2 separate regions of the Homo sapiens genome follow, and region 2 is linked to region 1. The links are contacts of gene promoters, found by promoter capture Hi-C in blood cells and fetal thymus (Javierre and others, 2016). All regions are on one chromosome and are shown on one strand. The core of a region is centred on a gene start or on the middle of the fragment in contact, and the rest is flanking DNA. Distances in the headings are between cores, read along the strand shown.

The links. The method cuts DNA at HindIII sites, captures the fragments that hold promoters and counts their contacts. A CHiCAGO score of 5 or more calls a contact.
Region 2: a contact is called between a fragment that was not itself captured here and the fragment with the promoter of DENND1C in region 1, in 1 of 17 cell types (activated CD4 T cells). The highest score is 7.7, in activated CD4 T cells.

The regions. Positions count from the first base shown.
Region 1 is chr19:6,479,660-6,485,189 of GRCh38, reverse strand. It overlaps DENND1C (DENN domain containing 1C), which reads left to right and starts at 3,403. Exons shown (of 23, transcript NM_024898.4): 1 at 3,403-3,511; 2 at 5,139-5,203; 3 at 5,288-5,331; 4 at 5,472-5,521. The coding sequence starts at 3,495. RefSeq lists enhancers at 2,918-3,212, 4,809-5,308. The HindIII fragment of the contact is 23,241 bases long and covers 1-5,530 here.
Region 2 is chr19:6,886,309-6,892,363 of GRCh38, reverse strand. ADGRE1 (adhesion G protein-coupled receptor E1) reads right to left here and starts at 4,785. Exons shown (of 21, transcript NM_001974.5): 1 at 4,725-4,785; 2 at 1,821-1,883. The coding sequence starts at 4,755. RefSeq lists an enhancer at 4,732-4,791. The HindIII fragment of the contact is 483 bases long and covers 2,057-2,539 here.

The DNA of each region.
Region 1 (5,530 bases), core at 2,154-4,653:
AGCCACGCATGGTGGTACAGATCTGTAGTCCCAGCTACTTGGGAAGCTGAGTCAGGAGAATCACTTGAACCTGGGAGGCAGAGGTTGCAGATATTTTGTCATAGCAGCCTTAATTTTTTTTTTTTTTAACATAGAGTCTTGCTCTGTCACTCGCTGGAATGCAGTGGTGCAATCAAAGTTCACTGTAGGCTTGAACTCCTGGGCTCAAGTGATCCTCCCGCCTTAGCCTCCCAAGTAGCCGGGACTACAGGCGCTATCACCACACCTAGCTCAAACCTCTTTTTATTTATTTATTTATTTATTTTTATTTTTTTATTTTTTACTTTCCCGAGACAGAGTCTCTCTCTGCTGCCCATGCTGCAGTGCAGTGGTGCAATCTTCACTCACTGCAACCTCTGCCTCCTGGGTTCAAACAATCCTCCCACTCAGCCTCCCAAGTAGCTGGGACTACAGGTGCACACCACCATGCCCAGCTAATTTCTGTATTTTTTGTAGAGACGGGGTTTCACCATGCTGCCCAGGCTGGTCTCAAACTTCTGCCTCAAGCAATCCACCCCCCTCAGCCTCCCAGAGTGCTAGGATTACAGGTGTGAACCACTGCACCCTGCCAGAGCCACCGCACTGGGCCTCAAGCCTCTTTTATAAAGGCATTAATCCCACTGTTGAGGGTGGATACCTCTTGACCTCATCACCTCCCAGAGGCCTCACCTATTTTTTTTTTTTTTTTTTGAGACGGAGTTTCACTCTTGTTGCCCAGGCTGGAGTGCAATGGCGCAATCTCGGCTCCTCTTACTACTGCCTTGGGGCTTTAGGTTTCAACATACGAATTTTGGAGGGACACATATTCGGACAATAGCACATGTCCATCAGACTGTGTGAGGATGTGGCTGACGGGATTCTGACTCTGTATGTGTCCAGTGACTGTGGGTACGAGGTGTCTTCTTCTTCTTCTTCTTTTTTTTTTTTTTGATGGAGTTTTGCTCTTGATGCCCAGGCTGGAGTGCAATGGCACGATCTTGGCTCACCACAGCCTCCGCCTCCCATGTTCAAGCAATTCTCCTGCCTCAGCCCCCTGAGTAGCTAGGATTACAAGTATGTGTCACCACCACACCCGGCTAATTTTGTATCTTTAGTAGAGACGGGGTTTCTCCAAGTTGCCCATGCTGGTCTCAAACTCCCGACCTCAGGTGACCCGCCCACCTCGGCCTCCCAAAGTGCTGGGATTACAGGTGTGAGCCACCGCACCCGGCCACGAGGTGTTTTCACACCACACAGTGGTCTGAGTCTGTTGGCAGGATTTCATGTGTAGGTGTGACCCTGACTATATCATGTTCTGTTTTTGTGCCTGCAGATATGTTCACATATCCTGTCTCAACATGACTACGTCTGTCCACCTGTGTGCCTGTGTCTTTTTTGTTGTTTTTGTTTGTTCCTGTGTTTGTTTGGAGATAGGGTCTTACACCGTTGCCCAGGCTGGAGTGCAATGGCACGATCACAGCTCACTACAACCCCCACCACCTGGGCTCAAGGGATCCTCCCGCCTCAGCCTACAGAATAGCTGGGACTACTGCACCTGGCTAAAGTTTTAATTTTTGTAAAGATGGGGTCTTGTTATATTGCTCAGGCTGATCTTTAACTCCTGGCCTCAAACAATCCTACCTCAGCCTCCCAAGGTGCTGGGATTACTGAGCCACTGCCTCCAGCCCCTGTGTCTTTCATAGTCTGCAGCACGGCTTGAGTGTGTCGGGCTGTCATGAGTATCTGGCTGTCATGTGAGTCCAGCTGTGTCTCTCTCTGCATGTGGCCGGGTCTTGGCTATAACTATATCTGGTTATTACTTGAGCTATGTCTGTGCTGTGTTTCCATCTATCTGGGTCTATTTCTCTGTTATTCTGTTTGTATCAATGGCTGTGGTCTCTGTGTAACTGTTTATTGTGTCTCTGTCTGTCTCTGCATTTGTTTGTTTGTTTGTTTGCTTTGTTTTTGTTTTTGTTTTTGAGATGGAGTCTCACTCTTTCACCCAGGCTGGAGTGCAGTGGCACGATCTCGGCTCACTGCAACCTCTGCCTCCCGGATTCAAGTGATTCTCCTGCTTCAGCCTCCCAAGCAGCTGGGATTACAGGCACATGCCACCATGCCCAGCTAATTTTTTGTTTGTTTGTTTGTTTTTGATTTTTTGAGACAGAGTCCTGCTCTGTCGCCCAGGCTAGAGTACAGCGGCGCGATATCGGCTCACTGCAAACTCCGCCTCCCAGGTTCAAATAATTCTGCCTCAGCCTCCTGAGTAACTGGGATTACAGATGCCCACCACCGTGCCTGGCTAATCTTTGTATTTTTAGTAGAGACTGGGTTTCACCATCTTGGCCAGGCTGGTCTCGAACTCCTGACCTCGTGATCCACCTGCCTCAGCCTCCCAAAGTGCTGGGATTACAGATGTGAGCCACCGCACCTGGCCTGTATTTTTTTTTAATTAGAGACAGGGTTTCACCATGTTGGCCAGGCTGGTTGCAAACTCCTGACCTCAAGTGATCCGCTTACCTTGTCTTTCTGCGCACAATGGGTGTGTAACTGTGACTAAGTTGTTTTTTTTTTTTTTTGAGACAGGATCTCACTTTGTTGCTCAGGCTGGAGTACAGTAGTGCAATCTTGGTTCACTATGGCCTCAAACTCCCCAGGCTCAGGCGATCCTCCTGACTCAGCCTCCTGGGTAAGCTGGGACTATAGGTGCGTGCCACCACCGCCAGCTATAATTTTTGTAGCTTTTATAGACACAGGGTTTCGCCATGTTTCCCAGGCTGGTCTCGAACTCCTGGGCTCAAGCGGTCCTCCCACCTTGGCCTCTCAAAGTGCTGGGATTATAGGCGTGAGCCACTGTGCCCGGCCTGGGACTATGATCCAGCTGTAGGACTCCCTATCTCTCCATGTCTGTCGTCTCTGGCTCTTCTGCACTCGGTTTGTCTGTGCTGATGACTTCCTGAGCGTGTAACTGTCTGTGTCTGTGTCTGTCTGTCCGTCCCTGTGCCTGTACTTCGTGCTCTTTGTCCCCATCCCTGGCCCCCCCACCGTCCACTTTACAGGTGGCTCCCTCTGGTGGTCCACCAGTGACCGTCCAGGCCAAATGGACCAAGGGAAAGAGACGGGGAGGCATTTCATTAATAGACAGACTGTGAATCTTGGCTGCTGCGGAGCGGGGAAGGAGAGATGAGGGCCCAGGCACGATGGGGGGAACCAGACACAGTCCAGCCTGGCGGGGACGGAGCTGGGGGTCTGCCTTCCCAGGCTGACCACTTATTGCCCACCCATCCCCAACATAATTAGCAGGCAGGATGCCTGGGTTTCTCACGGGGGTGGGGGCAGGGCCTCTGTCCGGGGACGTCACCCGTTAAACTTCCTCTCTCAGCCACACAGGAAGCTGAGCCGGCTTGGGGCCCAGCATACACAGGCCCCCAGGACCCCTGGGGAGAGGGCCCCGCTGGGCTGGCCCTGCAGGGACCATGGAATCCAGAGCTGAGTAAGAGCCACCCCATCCCTCATTCTCTGGTACAAGATTCCCGGGCCAGGCCTGAGCCGGGGCAGAGGGGAGCTGGGGCTGGAGCAGGCCCGGGAGGTGCAGTGACCTGCCAGGGCAGGTGGCTGGAATCAGATACTCCATGGGCCTCCGCTATGACCTTCACTCTGGGACAGGCCACTCTCGGTCCCCTCCTCTCTCTCTCTCTCTCTCTCTCTATCCAGCTCCTGTGATTATGTCTATAGCTCTGTGAATGCATGTACCCCTCTGAGCTTTGTCCTTGGTATGTCTGAGTGATGGCTTCAGGGGGTCCACAGGGCGGATGATCAGGGCAGAGGGGAGGCTGGGTGTTGGTATGAGTGGGTGATCGTGTGTGACTTGTGTCGGCGTGAGGGTGAAGTGCTGGGGTACCCATGGTGGGGACTGTGTGTGCAACTGGGCGGGACAGTGTGTGTGCAGCTGATCTCCCTCTAGATCTCCCTGTCTCTCTCCTTGAGCCCAAGGCTGCCTCTTCTGCTTGATATGGGGGCAGAGGAGGAAAGCAGAGATTGCAGGGCTTACAGTAAGTACCTAGGTATCCTGCCCTCCTTTCTCTGATGAGACATGTGGGACCAGCCACGAGGGTTCTATGGGGTCTCACACACAGAGACACACAGCCAGCCCACAAGGATCCCACGCGGTTACCCAGTGACACTCACAGCTGTACAGGAAAATATAGATGTCATTCACTTGCTCGGGCACACACACTCACATCTATACAAGAAAATATAGATGGCATGGCTAGATGCAGTGACTCAAGCCTGTAATCCCAGCAATTTGGGAGGCTGAGGCGGGCAGATCACCTGAGGTCAGGAGTTTGAGAACAGCCTGGCCAGTATGTGAAACCCTGTCTCTACTAAAAATATGAAAATTAGCTGGGCGTGGTGGCGGGCACCTGTAATCCCAGCTACAGGGAGGCTGAGGCAGGAGAATCGCTTGAACCTGTGGGGTGGAGGTTGCAGTGAGCCAAGATCGTGCCACTGTACTCCAGCCTGGGTGACAAAGCAAAACTCCATCTCAAAAAAATAGATAGATAGATAGATAGATAGATAGATAGATAGATAGATAGATAGATAGATAGGTGGGTGGGTGGATGGATAGGTGGGTGGGTGGGTGGATGGATGGATGGATGGATAGACAGAGACAGACAGACAGACAGATAGATGGATATATATATAGAGAGAGAGAGATGTAATTCACTTAGCTTGGGACTGCACGGGCTGTCCTTCATATCTGTGCAGTCTCATGCCACAGATATAGGAGACAGTCTCATCTTTTCAGGCAGACAGCAGACAGGATCACACACACACTGCCTGCTCACAAAAGCCATGCACTCAGCCACACACAATCATACACAGCCACACACACACAGTCACACTTTCTCACTCCATCCTGTACTTGTGTGTTCAATTAACACTGCTGCACACACAGCCTCACACAACCACACACTCACAGCCACAAACCCCCAGAGTCATGCACATGCCGACGCACCTTGTGGCACATGCACACACAACCACACTTGTGTGCAAAGTGGCAGACACAACCACACATGCATAGAAGCAAGTCTCTGGACCCCTTCTGCATCCCACAGAGGGGGCTCCCCTGCTGTGTTTGATTGGTTCTTCGAAGCGGCCTGCCCTGCCTCCCTGCAGGAGGGTGAGTTGGGAGCCTGGGAGTGAGGGAGTGGGAGGGGAGGGTGGGCCTGGGTCGCTGAACTTAGAGGCGTGCTCTCTTCTACAGATCCCCCCATCCTGCGGCAGTTCCCTCCAGACTTCAGGGACCAGGTATTCAGGCTGGCTCCTTGCTCCCCCAGGGCGAGGGCCAGTCTCCCAGGGGGAGGGGACTTGGTTTCTTGGACCTGGAGCCCAGGGAGGTGGTGCCCGACCTCAGTGGCCAAGCAGTCTGCGCTTTTCTTCACCTCCAGGAAGCTATGCAGATGGTGCCTAAATTCTGCTTCCCTTTTGATGTGGAAAGGTACGGAAG
Region 2 (6,055 bases), core at 1,049-3,548, 410 kb before region 1:
TTAGGAGTATGGAAAAACTAAAAAGTATCATAAAAACAGAAGGAATGGATTATCGTGATTGTGACATTATTCACCCTGTTTTTGTTACACATTTGGTTTTGAGATCTACGTTCTTTGCTCCTATAATGTGCCTTGTTTATTTCCCTTCCCTGCATGAGGCCTCAGATGGTATCTCTCTTCTCATTTCCAGCTTCCTCTTTCATCTGTAGAGGCAACATTTCTCTATGCAGACTTCCGGCATTTTATCACTTGTGGTCTCTTAATGCTGTAAGTTTCCCATCATTCTCTTCCACTAGCCCTCTCCCTCACAACTGAAACCCACCAAGGTCAGAGTAACAACCCGGTCTTGTGGGACTAGGTACCTGTCCACCTCCCCATCTCATCTCCTGCCCTGTGTCATCAGTCACACTCACCTTCGCTCGGTCCTCCAAATTCTTTCCAACCTCAGGACCTTTGCACCCACCGTTCTGGCCACCAGACATGCCCTATCCCACCCTGCCCCTTTGCCTGGGTAACATCAATTCATCCATCCTTTAAGTCCACTGGAACATCACTTCCTTGAGAAAATTTTCCCAACCATCTCAATAAAGCCCTTTTGAAAAAGTCCTACAAAGGGGCCAGGCGCAGTGGCTCATGCCTGTAATCCCAGCACTTCGGAAGGCTGGGGTGAGCAGATCACCTAAGGAGTTCAAGACCAGCCTGGTTTCTAGTGAAACCCCGTCTCTACTAAAAATACAAAAAAATTAGCCAGGCGTGGTGGCGGGCGCCTGTAGTCCCAGCTACTCGGGAGGCTGAGGCAGGAGAATGGCGTGAACCTGGAAGGCGGAGCTTGCAGTGAACCGAGATCGCACCACTGCACTCCAGCCTGGGCAACAGAGCGAGAATCTATCTCAAAAAAAAAAAAAAAATGTGAAAGATGAGCTGTTAACACAATATAGACCAAGTTGCTAAGTTGCCCAAAGAAGAACCAGGAAACAGAGACACTGGGAACAGTTGTATTAGTCTGTTTTCATGCTGCTAATAAAGACATACCCGAGACTAGGTAATTTATAAGGGAACGAGGTTTAATTTGACTCACTGTTGCACATGGCTGGGGAGGCTTCACAATCATGAGGAGCAAAATTATGTCTTACTTACATGGCAGGAGGCAAGAGAGCTTGTGCGGGGATCTCCCATTTATAAAACCATCAGATCTCGTGAGACTTACTCACTACCACGAGAACAGTATGGGGGAAACCATCCCCCATGATTCAATTATCTCCAACTGGCCCCGCCCTTGACACGTGGGGATTCTTACAATTTAAGGTGAGATTTGGGTGAGGACATAGCCAAACCATATCAACAACTACGAACTGACAATGTCTTTCTTCCTTTATCCAGCAAGAGTTTATGTAGATGAGAGTATTTAACAAAACATAAAGAAGTCACTTTTTTTTTGCACATTGAGTTGTAGTTTGAGTAAATTCCATCCCTACTCTCACTACACTACCATTTATAAAGCTCATACTACATACCAGGTGGTTTCCAAAGCTACCTCTTTGAATTAAAGTTTCACAACATCCCTATTGTTATCTGTATTTCACAGCTTGGGAAACTGAAGTTCAGAGAGGTTATGTGACTTATCTGAGATCACACAGCAATTCTAAGCACAAAGGAAAGAGCCTGAAGTGAGAATCAGGAGACTTGCATGTTAACCCTTGCTCTGCCGCTAACTAGCTCCCAGCAAGCATCTGGATGAGGCTCAGCTTCCTGGGATGTTTCCCCGGGGAGAAAACTTTCTCTACCCCTTCAGGCATCTGCATTCTCTCTGGCCAACTTACCCTTTGTGTTTGGTTTCCGTGTGGGTCTTATGTGCCCTTCCCAGCTGTGCATAACACAACATCCTGTGAAGAAAGAAAAGAAAAACACCATGAACCACCAAAAAAAAAAAAAAAAAAAAAAACCTTTTGGGCTCAACCTGCAAAATTACTCCTGGCTTGGCCCCACAGAAATAGGTTTGAAGAGGCTAGATGACAAACCTAGTTAAGGAACAAACATACACTATTTTGCATAAGCTTAACAATGACCATTCCTGGTTTTCTGTACTTTGCTTTTGCTTTTCATTTTGTCTGTCTTTATCTTCTTTTTCTTTTTGATTAAATAGTTCCAGGCTAAGCACTGTGGTGCACACCTATAATCCCAGCCCTTCGGGAGGCCAAGGTGGGAGGATCACTTGAGACCAGCAGTTTGACACCGGCCTGGACAACACAGTGAGACTTTGTCTCTACAAAAAAAAAATTTTTTAAATTAGCTGGGTGGTGGTGACAACTTGTAGCCCCAGCTACTCAGGAGGCTGAGGTGGAAGGATTGCTTGAGCCCAGGAGATAGAGACTGCAGTGAGCCAAGATCATGCCACTGCGCTCCAGCCTAGGTGACCCTGTCTAAAAAAAAAAGTTCTAGCTGATTTTCAAAAACATACATTAAAGCATGCATTCTCAAAAGGGGTGATATATCCTCTAAGGACCCAAACTTGGTTCTCAGGAAGAGATCTTTTTAAGCTTACTCTTTTATGTATAAGATACATATGTATATATAGAAAATACATATATAGGTATACAGTATATCTGTAGTATTAACATTTCATGAGAGGGTAGGGCAATTCGTTTTTCTTTCCTTTTTTTTTTTTTTTTTTTTTTTGAGATGGAGTCTCACTCTGTCACCAGGCTGGAGTGCAGTAGCGTGATCTAGGCTCACTGCAACCACCAACTCCCTGGTTCAAGCTATTCTCCTGCCTCAGCCTCCCGAGTAGCTGGGATTACAAGCACGCACCACCACGCCCAGCTAATTTTTGCATTTTTAGTAGAAACGGGGTTTCTCCATGTTGGCCAGGATGGTCTCGATCTCCTGACCTCATGATCTGCCTGCCTCAGCCTCCTAAAGTGCTGGGATTACAAGCGTGAGCCACTGCGCCCTGCCCATTTTTTAGTGTTTAAAGGCAATGCAGCCCTGCAGCATTTAGGTCTCCTGCACCATCATCATTATCGCCATCATTATCACTATCATCATCACCATCATCATCTTCATCATCACCATCATCATCATCATTATTATCACCATCATCACCATTATCATCATCACCATCACCATTATCACCATCACCACCATCATCATCATCACCACCATAATCACCAACATCACCATCTTCATCGTCATTATCACACCATCATCACCACCATCATCATCATTATCCCTATCATCACCATTATCATCATCACCATCATCACCATCTTCATGGTCATTATCACACCATCATCATCACCATCATCTTCATTATCACTATCATCACCATTATCATCATCATCATCATCACCATCACCATCATCATCACCATTTTCATCATCACTATTATAACCACCACCATCATGATCATTATCATCACTATCATTATCACAACTCTTTGCTGATTATCTTCAGGGCAGAATAGGGAGTGTTAATGGTTAATACCATTGCCAACACCCCAAAATAACAACTCTGCATGCCTACATTTGATGTCCACAGGCCACCTATTTCTTCTAATGTAGCCTGCCAGTCAACAAGTCCCACAGATCTAAACTCCCAAATTCTATCTATTATTACTAACAAAAATTCTTCTACTCATTCATTAATTATTTTAGAGGTAATTCAGCATGCTGTTTAGGCATACAAAGTCTGAAGTCAAAGTGCTTAGGTTTAAAAATCTGGCTTCACCAATTAATGATTGCGTGGCCTTGAGGAAGTTATTTAATCTCTTTGTGCCTCAGTTTCCTCCTTGGTAAAATAGGGTATTCAGATCCACTCTTCAACAGCAGAGGAAACCCATACTTGCTACTTAGAATATGTCCCCAATATCCTCCATTCTTAAATTTGATCCAATGACCAAAACACACAAGACATAGAAGAAAAACCAGAAACACAGAAGATAAACAAGGCTGAGACAAACTGACACCTGAAGAAAGAGAAATAAGAGCACAGGAAGGGTCTATCTCATCCTTCAGGACTCAGCTCGAACTGCCCCTCCTCAACCCCAGACTTCTCCCTTCAACATAACTCCCGACCACATTCTATAACAACTTCTTTCATAGCACTTATCACTACCTGAAATTCCTATGTTTACTTATTTTTTGGGGCAACATAGTATAGTGGAAAAGCTTACAGACTCTGAAGTCAGACTGTCTGGCTTGAAATCCTGCCTCTACCCCTTATTGACTAAGTGGCCTTGGGAAAATTATTTTATCTCTTTTGCCTCAGTTTTCTCATTTGCAAAATAGGACTAATAATGACCCAATGTCATAGAAATGTTGTGACAATTGGATACACTCTATGTTTAAAGAAGTTACAGCAGTGCTAAGTGGGCTATGATCATCTGTGCCTTCTTTCCTGTCTGCTCCTACCCACTAGAATATCAGCCTCAAGAGTGCAGGAACTTAGTCTTTTTTTCTCACTGCTATATCCTCTAGTGCCTAGAACAGCACCTGACACACAGGACTTGCTCAGGTCAAATGAATGACTATAGAGAAAAATCTATCCTAACAGATGGACTTCCCTGAGCTATGGAATTTTGTCAAAGGTTCCCTGAATGAAGGTGTTTGCAGCATCCAGTCTGGACTTATGATCTCTTGGCTGGACCATCCATGGCCCTCCCATTTCTCCTGAAGTCTATTTCCAATCCAGGCCTCCCCTAGCCCCCCATTCAGCCTCACACTCACCCCAGAAGAGGAGCAGGTTGAAGCCACGCATTATGCTGTAGTTCTGTCATTCAAAGAAAAGAAACTTTTCTACTAACGCTGGGTTTTCAGTAACCAGAAGGTGTGCGAAGAGGGGAAGGCGGAGTCAGAGTTGCTCAATGCTGCCTGGTCATCATAGCCCTTTTTGCTGACTTGCTGCAACTAAAAGACAGCCTAGAAAATCCTAATTTCCCCCTTTCTTCACAATAAAGAGAAGTTAATCTGCCTAATGTATATCATTCTCTCTCTCTCTCCTTCCCATGGTCTCTCCCTTTTTCTTTCCCATCAACATCTATCTCCCATCTCTCAACACCTTCTTTCATTGCACCCAATAAAGGAGCTTCCGCTTCCTGCCTCCAGTGAAGCAAATCTCAGCCTTTAGGGTCTCTTCCCAGTCTCCCGTATAAAGACAGCCATCACAACCATCATGTACCAGGCAGTGTGCTAGGCACATTGGCAACAAAGTGTAATTTCATTATCATGTTAACCTTGTAAAGTAGGAATTCCCCTCCCTCCCTCTATTCACCAACAAAATGGAAACTGAGACTTGCAGAGGAGTTATAACTTGTCCAAGATCTCTCAGACTTGAGATTTGAACCCAGGACCCTCTGATTCCAGAGTCAAGAGCTTTAACCATCTTATTTTCCTTCAGATCTCAACTCTGTCTGACGATTATACAGCAACACTTCCACCCCATTCCCAGCTTCCTAACTCTCTCTGGTAACATCTTAGGGTCTCACAAGGGCAGACCCTCAGACAAGGATTCTAGCAAAAGTAGTTTATCAAGAAGGTGGCCCCAGAAAGCACCAGCTGGGGGAGGAGAAAGTGAATCAGGAAAGGCAAAGAGCCAATACTGGGTGTGTCTTCAAATAAGTTACATGGTGAGAAAGTGGAACTTAACCTCCCCAGGGATGACTGGGGAGCGGCATGGAACATACTCTTCAGTTATTCCAACCGAGGGGTGAGGGAGCTGAGGTATTTATATCCCACCTACTGTCAGTCATGGGTTGACTTGAGGCTTGCTCCTAGAGGGTGTCAACCCCTTGAATCTTCAGGCCTGGCCTCCAAGCAGATAGAATGGGCTCCAGTTGATGTAATCCCACTGATAACAAAGTGTAGTGACTGGCAGATATTGAAGCAGTGTCATCCATCTGGGGTAATACCCGAGGTTCATTGCCTCACACCAAGGAAATAGAAAATACAGACATGGCCGGGCACCGTGGCTCACACCTGTAATCTCAGCACTTTGGGAGACTGAGGAGGGTGGATTACGAGGTCAGGAGTTCAAGACCAGCCTGGCCAAGATGGGGAAA